Linked DNA regions of Homo sapiens: regions 1 and 2 are each linked to region 3. Evidence: promoter capture Hi-C in 16 types of primary human blood cells and fetal thymus (Javierre and others, 2016). All regions are on one chromosome and are shown on one strand. Each heading gives the region's core, a stretch centred on a gene start or on the middle of the fragment in contact. The rest is flanking DNA. Distances are from core to core; before and after follow the strand shown. Region 1 has its middle 180 kb from the start of LINC02820. Region 2 has its middle 230 kb from the start of LINC02820. Region 3 holds the start of RASSF9 (Ras association domain family member 9).

Region 1 (2,700 bases), core at 50-2,549, 340 kb after region 3:
CAAAACTAAAAAACAAAAAGGAAATTCTGAAGGGAGCCCAAGAAAAGAAGCAAATAACATATAAGAGAGTTTTAATACACCTAGCATCAGACTCTCAGAAGAAACATTACAGGCCAGAAAAGAGTGGGATAAAATATTAAAAGTGCTCAAAGAATGAGAACATGTCCTTTGCAGGGACATGGATGAAGCTGAAGCCATTATCCTTAGCAAATGAACACAGGAACAGAAAACCAAATACTGCATATTCTCACCTATAAGTGGAAGCTAAGTGATGAGAATACATGGACACATAGAGGGGAACAACACACACTGGGGCCTTTTGGAGGGTGGCGGATGGGAGGAGGTAGAATATCAGGAAAAATAACTAATGGGCACTAGGCTTAATACCTGGGTGATGAAATAATCTGTACAACAAATCCCCATGGCATGAGTTTATCTATGTAACAAACCTGCACTTGTACCCCTGAACTTAAAAGTTAAAAAAAAAAGAAGAGAACTACCAACCAAGCATATCGTACCCAGCAAAACTGTGCTTGAGAAATGAAGAAGAGGCAGGGCATGGTGGCTCATGCCTTTAATCCCAGCAATTTCAGAGGCTGAGATAGATTACCTGAGTCCAAGAGTTTGAGACAAGCCTGGATGACATGGAGAAACCTCATCTCTATAAAAAATAAAGTAAAATAAAAGATTAGCCAGGCATGGTGGTATATGTCTGTAGTCCCAGCTATTTGGGAGACCGAGATGGGAGGATTGCTTAAGCCCAGAAGGCAGAGGCTGCAATGAGCCATGACATCATCACAGGACTCCAGCCTGAGCAACAGAGCCACTCTGTCTCAAAAAAAAAGAAAAAAAAAAAAAGAAAGGGAAAAAAAGAAATGAAGAAGAGATAAATCAGATAAACAAAAGCTGAGGGATTTTATCACCACCAGACTTGTCCTATAATAAATGCCAAACAAAGTTCTTCAAGCTGAAGAAATAGCTTACTTACTAATGAGTAAGACAAAAATATCTGAAAGTATAAAACTAATTAGTAAAAGTAAGTACATAGTCCAATTTAGAATACTCTAATACTGTAAATGGTAGTGTGTAAATCACTTATAACTTTAACATAAATGATATTAAAAGACAAAACTAAAAATAATAACTACAGTAATTTGTTAAGAGATATACAATATAGAAAGATTACAATGGTAACATTAAAAATTTTAAATGTTAGGTGGACAGCTGAGGAAATGCATAGAGATTTTCATTGTGGGTGTTTGTTGGCAATCAAAGTTAAGTTATTATCAGCTTAAAATAATCTATTTTAACTATAAGATGTTTATTGTAAGCATCATAGTAACTACAAAGCAAAATCTATGGTAGATTTAAAAAATAAATGAAACACAAGAAATTAAAACATACCACAAAAGAAAAATCATTTAACCACAAATAGAGACAAACAGAAAGAAAAAAAGAAAAAAACAACAGATCTACAAAGCAAATAGAAAACAATTAACAAAATTACAGTCAGAAGTCCTAACCTATCAGTCATAACCTTGAATTTAAATGATGTAAATTCTCCTATCAAAAGATATATAATGGCTGAATGGATAGACAATCAAAACCAACTATGTGCTGCCTACAGAAACTGATGACTTAACTCTTCCAAAAAACTGAAGAGAAAGGAATACTTGAAAACCTACTTTATAAGGCCATAATTACCATAATATCAAAATCAGACAAAGATATAGCAAAAATAAAATGATAATTCACTATCCTTGCTGAATATAAATGCAAAAATCCTCAAAGAAATGCTAAAAAACTGAATTCGATAGCACATTAAAAAAGATTATTCACCAAGATCAAGTGAGATTCATCCCAGGGATCCAAGGAAGGCTCAACATACCCAAATCAAAAATCATGATACATCATATTAAGAGAATGAAGGGCAAAAACCACCATATGATCAGTTCAACAGATACACAGAAGCATTTGACAAAATTCAACATCCTTTCATGATAAAAACTCAACAAATTATGTTTTGAAGTAATGTATCTCAACATAATAAAGACCATGTATGGCAAAACCACAGCTAACATTCATAGTCAATTGGAAAAAAATGGAAAGATCTCATCTAAAATCTGGAACAAGACAAGGATGCTCACTCTTACCATTTCTATTCAACATAGTTTTGGAAGTCTTCGCCAGAGCATTTAGGCAAGAGAAAGAAATAAAAGGCATCCAAAATGGAAAGGAAGAAGCTAAATTATTCCTATTGGCAAATGACACTGTCTTACATTTATACCACCTTAAATATAAAACTCCACTGAAAACAAAATTGTTAGAACTAATAAATTCAATAAAGATGTAAAATACAAAATTAACATTCAAAAATCTATAGTGTTTCTGTGTATTAACAGCAAACTATCAGTAGCTACAAAAAAACACAAAAACTTAGTAATAAAGTTAACCAAGCAGGTGAAAAATATCTACATTGAAAACTATACAGCATTTATGAAAGAAATTGAAAATGACACAAATAAATGAAATAGTCATCCATGTTAATGGAGTAGAACTAATATTGTTAAAATGTCTATATTGCCCAAAGCAATCTACAGATTCAGTGCAATTTCCATCAAAATAGCAGAGGCATTTTTCACAAAAATAGTAAAAAAAATCCTAAAACTTATATGGAACCACAAAAGACTCTGAATCGCC
Region 2 (2,772 bases), core at 216-2,715, 290 kb after region 3:
ATTGAACCCCAGTCTGTCTTTTGATTCCATTCTTCTTTAAATTCTTTAGTATCTTCTCAAACTATTTGGTTTTATCATTCTTTTTTATTATTTTTTGATTTTATACATTAATGGGTTTTGCCATGCTGACAATCTTTCTTCATGCTGAGTTTGGTTGGTGAAAAATCCTGTAAAAATAAAGTTACTTTTTCTCTCCTGCTGTTATCATTGACTTTTTTGAAATCATTATTATTTGCATCTTTGGTTTCTTTCTGTTTATAAAGGTTTTATAGCTATTTGTTTTAAATGAAAAATGTCTAGGTCTTTATTTTTTCCAGTTTTAAAACTGGAAATTTTTTTAAAACTGGATAAAATTTTTTTATCACTCTGAGAATTTATTAATAGCAAGAATAGTTCTTCTACTTATGGAATTGAACTTTTTGGAAGGTTGTTTTTCCTTCACAGATTGATGGAATTTCATGAGCCTGGCCTTGTCCCTCTTTTAACAATAATAACAGACCAAATATTTAGTTAAATAATTTGTCTTCAGGGTGCATATATAAGTATTTTTGGAGCTCGAAGTTTCAAATAAACTCATCAAGGCAGGTAACTATACTGCAACATATGGTTTGCCAAGATTTAGATAGTTATGGCTTCAAAAACAAATCATTCTGGATTCTAAATTTATGTGATTAAGGGAATTATTTTGTTGTTGTTTGAGAGGTGGAGCTGGAAAAGAGTTTTGGATTTTAAAAAAGATTGTCTTGGCCCAATAAAGAGATAGAATACACTTCTAATGCCTCTGACTGTCCTGGAGAGATGACCATGAGAGCCTATATATTTACAGTTGCAGCTCTCCTCAGAGTGATCCCGAATTCAGGTGTTGGGGTTCCCATGCACAAAATAATCCACAAATCATACGTCTACATTTCAAATATAGCATGGATACCAAAAAAACTAAACCCTACTACATCATCCAGCTTTAGGTTCAAAGTCTATAAGTTTCAACTAATTTAGATTATTTTCTCTAATGGTCAAAGGAAATCCTGTTATAGAATGGTATTTGCTAGGGTGGGGACAAAGGTAGTTTCAAGCCCTAGTAGTTCCGAGAAAAATGCTCCTAAGCTTATCTTACTCAAAACCTAAGGCAACCAAAGAATAAGTAAATTATTATGCTTGGGGCTCATACTCTATATTTCTGTTTCAAGGTAATCTTGTTTTTACTCAGAATGATTTACCTCAATGATTCCCATAAGAATTGAAGGAGGAGGAGAAGGTAGCAGGGGGCATTTTTAAGAGAGAATATGACAATGACTTGAATACATTTTTAAACTACATGTGGCTCACATCCCAGGAGATGCATAAACACAACTCGGTAAAGCTATTCCACCACCTATGGTCATTGTATTCATTTCCTATTGCTGCAACAAATCACTACAAATGCAGTGGTTTCAAACAACACAAATTTATTCTCTCTCTTATTGGGTTAAAGTCAGGCTGTTGGCAGGTCTGGTTCCTTCTGGAAGCTCTAAGAGAGTATTAATTCCCTGCCCTTGCCAGGCTTTAGAAGTTGCCCACATTCCTTGGCTCAGAGCACGCTTCCAGCAATGACATTATTTGATCTCTGTTTCCATATGATATCTCTCACATGACCACCAGGCAGAATATTATTCTTCTTTATAGTCCAACAGAATTATTTTCACATATGCCACTGTTTAAGCACTTATTACATTGTGTGGCGTACTAGTCTGTTCTCATGCTGCTAATAAAGACATACCCGAGACTGGGTAATTTGTAAATGAAAAGATTTTATTGGCTCACAATTCAGCATGGCTGAGGAAGCTTCAGGAAACCTTCAATCATGAGGGAAGGGAAAGCAAACACAGCATTCTTCATATAGCAGCATCAAGGAGAAGTGCCAAGCAAAAGGGAAAAGCCTCATATAAAACCATCAGATTTCATGAGAACTCACTCACTATCATGAGAACAGCATGAGGGTAACCACCCCTATGATTAAATTACCTCCTACCAAGTCCCTCCCATGACACATGGGATTATGGGAGCTACAATTCAAGATGAGATTTGGGTGGGGACACAGCGAAACCATATCATAAGGTAAATATGTATTAGAAATACTCCTCAAGCTATAACGGGGTTATAAACTGTTAAACCTATCATAAAGTTGAAAAATTGTAAGTTGAACCATCCTAAGTGGGGCCCATCTGTATATCTGTATATATCTTTCTTTTGAAATGAACTCTTCAACGTCAGAGACAATGCTTAATTTCCTTTTGAATATCAATGCCTACCACAATATCTACGATATAGTAGATGCTTAATAAATGTTTACAATAATTAAATAACTAAAATTCTTTGTATCCGCCAGAATAAATTTTATAGCTCTCTGTGAAGTAGAGGTACATGCCATGAAGGATCAGTTCAAATTTTCTAGGGAGGAAGACCTCATCTGTTTTTGGTTACATGGATTGTGGTGCTTCAAGAGGAATGAAACTGTTCTTCCATAATCCAACTTCCAAAAAGAAAATAATAAAAATAGGCATCTTACTGTTCATCTATCTTTGTCTCACTTGTAATATTGGCCCTATAGCTAAAAACAATACACTTTTAAAATATTTCTGTATTTCATCTTTAGGTTTTTTTTATATTTTAGCATCTTTTATAAAAAGAAGCAATAAATAAACATCATATAGATGAACACTATTGGGCATTTGTCATTGAAAAAATGTAACTTTGAATGGTATTTCAAAGAATAAAATCAATCTGTAAGTATTG
Region 3 (2,700 bases), core at 3-2,502:
AAAAACATGATTTATCTGAGCACTGCATAAATCAGTGTGTATCAGAATCATGGAAGACCTTGAGATTATTTTTTTGTTTGGTGTTGTTGGGGGTAGGGGATAAACTCCCAAAGTAAGTAGGAGCGATTCATATTCTTTGCCAAGGCTCAGAAAGAACTCACAAGTTTGTTGGCTTTCCTTTCCCTCCCTCCCTCATCGTCTGCCTGGGAAGCCCATGATTAGAAGCCTGGCGGGGTGGAGGGTGGTGGGGTGGTTTTAGGAGGGGCAAAATCCCAGTAAAACACGTCCATGAGAAAGCTCTCCTGGCCCTTGCCCCTAAATAGTGCTTTCCCATGAGTGCCAGGTACCTGGTGGGAGCTGCGCTGGGCCTCCCACAGGCACCCGAACTCTCCCATCTCCATTCCTCTGCCCTGCTTCTGGATTCGAGCTCTCCTGGGACCAGATGAAGCCCTCCCTCCCTTAGACTTCCACTTCACATTTCGAGCTCCAGCAGATCCCCTCGGTGTGTCTTCTTTACTCCTTGAGGGGCAGGAGCAGTTTGCTTTTCCTCTGAAATTCCCAGGGCTCTAAAGGCCCAGTGAATGTCAAAGATGGGGTAGGGGTCAACATAAACGCCTTGGGAGTCAAACACTAAACTCCAGCTGGTTCCTAGACCAAACTGTGATGCATCAGCCCTGGAGCCCTGTGGTCCTTCAGGTCCTTCGACTTTTGCAAGATGAACTTGAGAGTGTGGAGCAGGGGCCTGGAAGAAACTCTTAAGACCGTGAACTCAGGGACTTAACAATTCTAAGTGGTCTGTGAGTCCACCTTGATCCGGTTTCCAGCTTCCCTCTCCCTAATATATTTTAAAGTCCTGACACCCTGGCAGGGGATCTGGGGTCGAATGAGTTGGCAAAGAGAGTTCTCAGCAATCCCTCATGCTTGCCATGATCAGATGACTTTTCACAGACTGGAGCTGACCAGGAGTTGGGGGATATTTACTTTTAATCCTTTTATGTGTGTTCAGTACACCTTGTGTGGTTGGGTGTGGAAAGCGGGGGAGGGGGGATTTCCAGATCGAGTGAAACTCCCGTTCCATTGGTATTACCATGCTTGTGGGGTTGGCAGTTCTTTAAGTCTGCAAATAACTACAGAACACAATAGAGTCCTCCTCCCTTCCTCTCTCTCTCTTTCTTTTTTTTTTTTCTTTTCCTGCTTCCAAACGCCTTCTTCGAGGCTGAAGCTGGGCAGGTCTCCAGAGGTGCAGCAGCCACAACAATCCCGCAGTTCAAAGTTAAGCAGCAGTTGCACAACTTCCAGCAACTTTCTCAGCCGGCTACTAATGAGCTGAAAGCCAGGAACATCCGAGGAGAAGAGAAAGCTTCCAGCCCTCCTCCCTTCACCCTGGAAATCCAGACACCCCCACCCCCACCCTCAGATCACTTTAAGATAATTTCTTTATTCGTTTGCCCGACAGACCATGGCTCCCTTTGGAAGAAACTTGCTAAAGACTCGGCATAAAAACAGGTAAAGTCAAGCGTGTGAGTAAGTGTGTGTGTGTCTCTGTGTGTGTGTGTGTCTTGTGTGTGTACTCTGGACCCTACCTGTGAAAGTATGTGTTTTGTGGTTGTTAGATTCTGATAAAAAAAGGCTTCGTGGGGACACAGTCCTAGCCTAAGGAGTTAGGCTAGTATGAATACCTAGATAGTAAGGATATTCTCCCAGTATTGATGATGGGAGTGACCAGCTCAAGGATCGCAGAGAATAAAGAGTGATTATATTTGACTCCTTTCTCCCCTTTTGACCAGTCCTGTTTCCACAACTAGCAACATAAACAGTTTCTTTTTTTGTTGCCCTGGGCATTTGAGGGTAGTACAATAAAAAGTGTCATTTTGTTTCAACAGAACTTTAGAATATTGTAGAAATAATTAAAACTTTGATAAAGATGTAACTAGTATTTATAGCCACTAAGTAGGATGAAAAATAAAACTGCTGATACAATTCAGAAACAATGCTTTGGCTCCCCTGAGAGTGAGGCATTCCTGAAACCTGGAATGTTCCCAAAGTGGAAACACTCTGGAGAGAAACTTTGTTTGAATTGATTCTTTAAAAAATCTTTGAGAATTTTAGGTAGTTTTAAGCACTAAAGAAGGATTCAAGCAGCTATCCTCTCTAATCCTTATTATTACTGTTTTACTTTGATTTGATTTGATATTTCAAGCTTGAAATGCCCATAGTATAAATAAGTTACTCAAAACACACATACACACACGTATTTTTCTAGGGACAGTATGTCTGTCTTAGTCTTATTAAATATTTTATTTACACATCAAATGTTACGTTTTCATGCCAAAAACTTGAGAATAAATTTAGACATGGGCTATATTTTTTTAAAAATATATTTATTTTGGCATAGGGGATTGTCCACCACTTTTCTCTCAATCATGCCTGTTTGTACTTGTCATAATTTGCTCAGTGCAGATTCAAAAGGATACAATTACATGGTAGGAAATGATATAATTATTTTAAAGTGTCTACATGACAATATAGAGTAATACAACTTTAAAGTAAATCTCCATACTTTATTTTGCGCACACATGTCTACTTTGAAAATCCTGTTTTTAACTCATTCCAAATGTATTCATGATTTAGGTGACAAAATTTCCTTTAGAAAGTAAATGGCCTTAATAAATACTGTAAAAGTTTCTAAGTAAGCTTTAT

Evidence for each region. The method cuts DNA at HindIII sites, captures the fragments that hold promoters and counts their contacts. A CHiCAGO score of 5 or more calls a contact.
Region 1: a fragment that was not itself captured here is called in contact with the fragment with the promoter of RASSF9 in region 3 in 2 of 17 cell types (erythroblasts and megakaryocytes); the score reaches 6.2 in erythroblasts.
Region 2: a contact is called between a fragment that was not itself captured here and the fragment with the promoter of RASSF9 in region 3, in 1 of 17 cell types (erythroblasts). The highest score is 5.1, in erythroblasts.

What each region holds. Positions count from the first base shown.
Region 1 is chr12:85,491,764-85,494,463 of GRCh38, reverse strand. No RefSeq gene overlaps it. Among named protein-coding and RNA genes, the nearest start is that of LINC02820, 180 kb to the right of the region's middle. The HindIII fragment of the contact is 6,875 bases long and covers 1-2,700 here.
Region 2 is chr12:85,543,639-85,546,410 of GRCh38, reverse strand. No RefSeq gene overlaps it. Among named protein-coding and RNA genes, the nearest start is that of LINC02820, 230 kb to the right of the region's middle. The HindIII fragment of the contact is 717 bases long and covers 1,107-1,823 here.
Region 3 is chr12:85,834,961-85,837,660 of GRCh38, reverse strand. It overlaps RASSF9 (Ras association domain family member 9), which reads left to right and starts at 1,252. Exons shown (of 2, transcript NM_005447.4): 1 at 1,252-1,506. The coding sequence starts at 1,460. The HindIII fragment of the contact is 4,697 bases long and covers 1-1,362 here.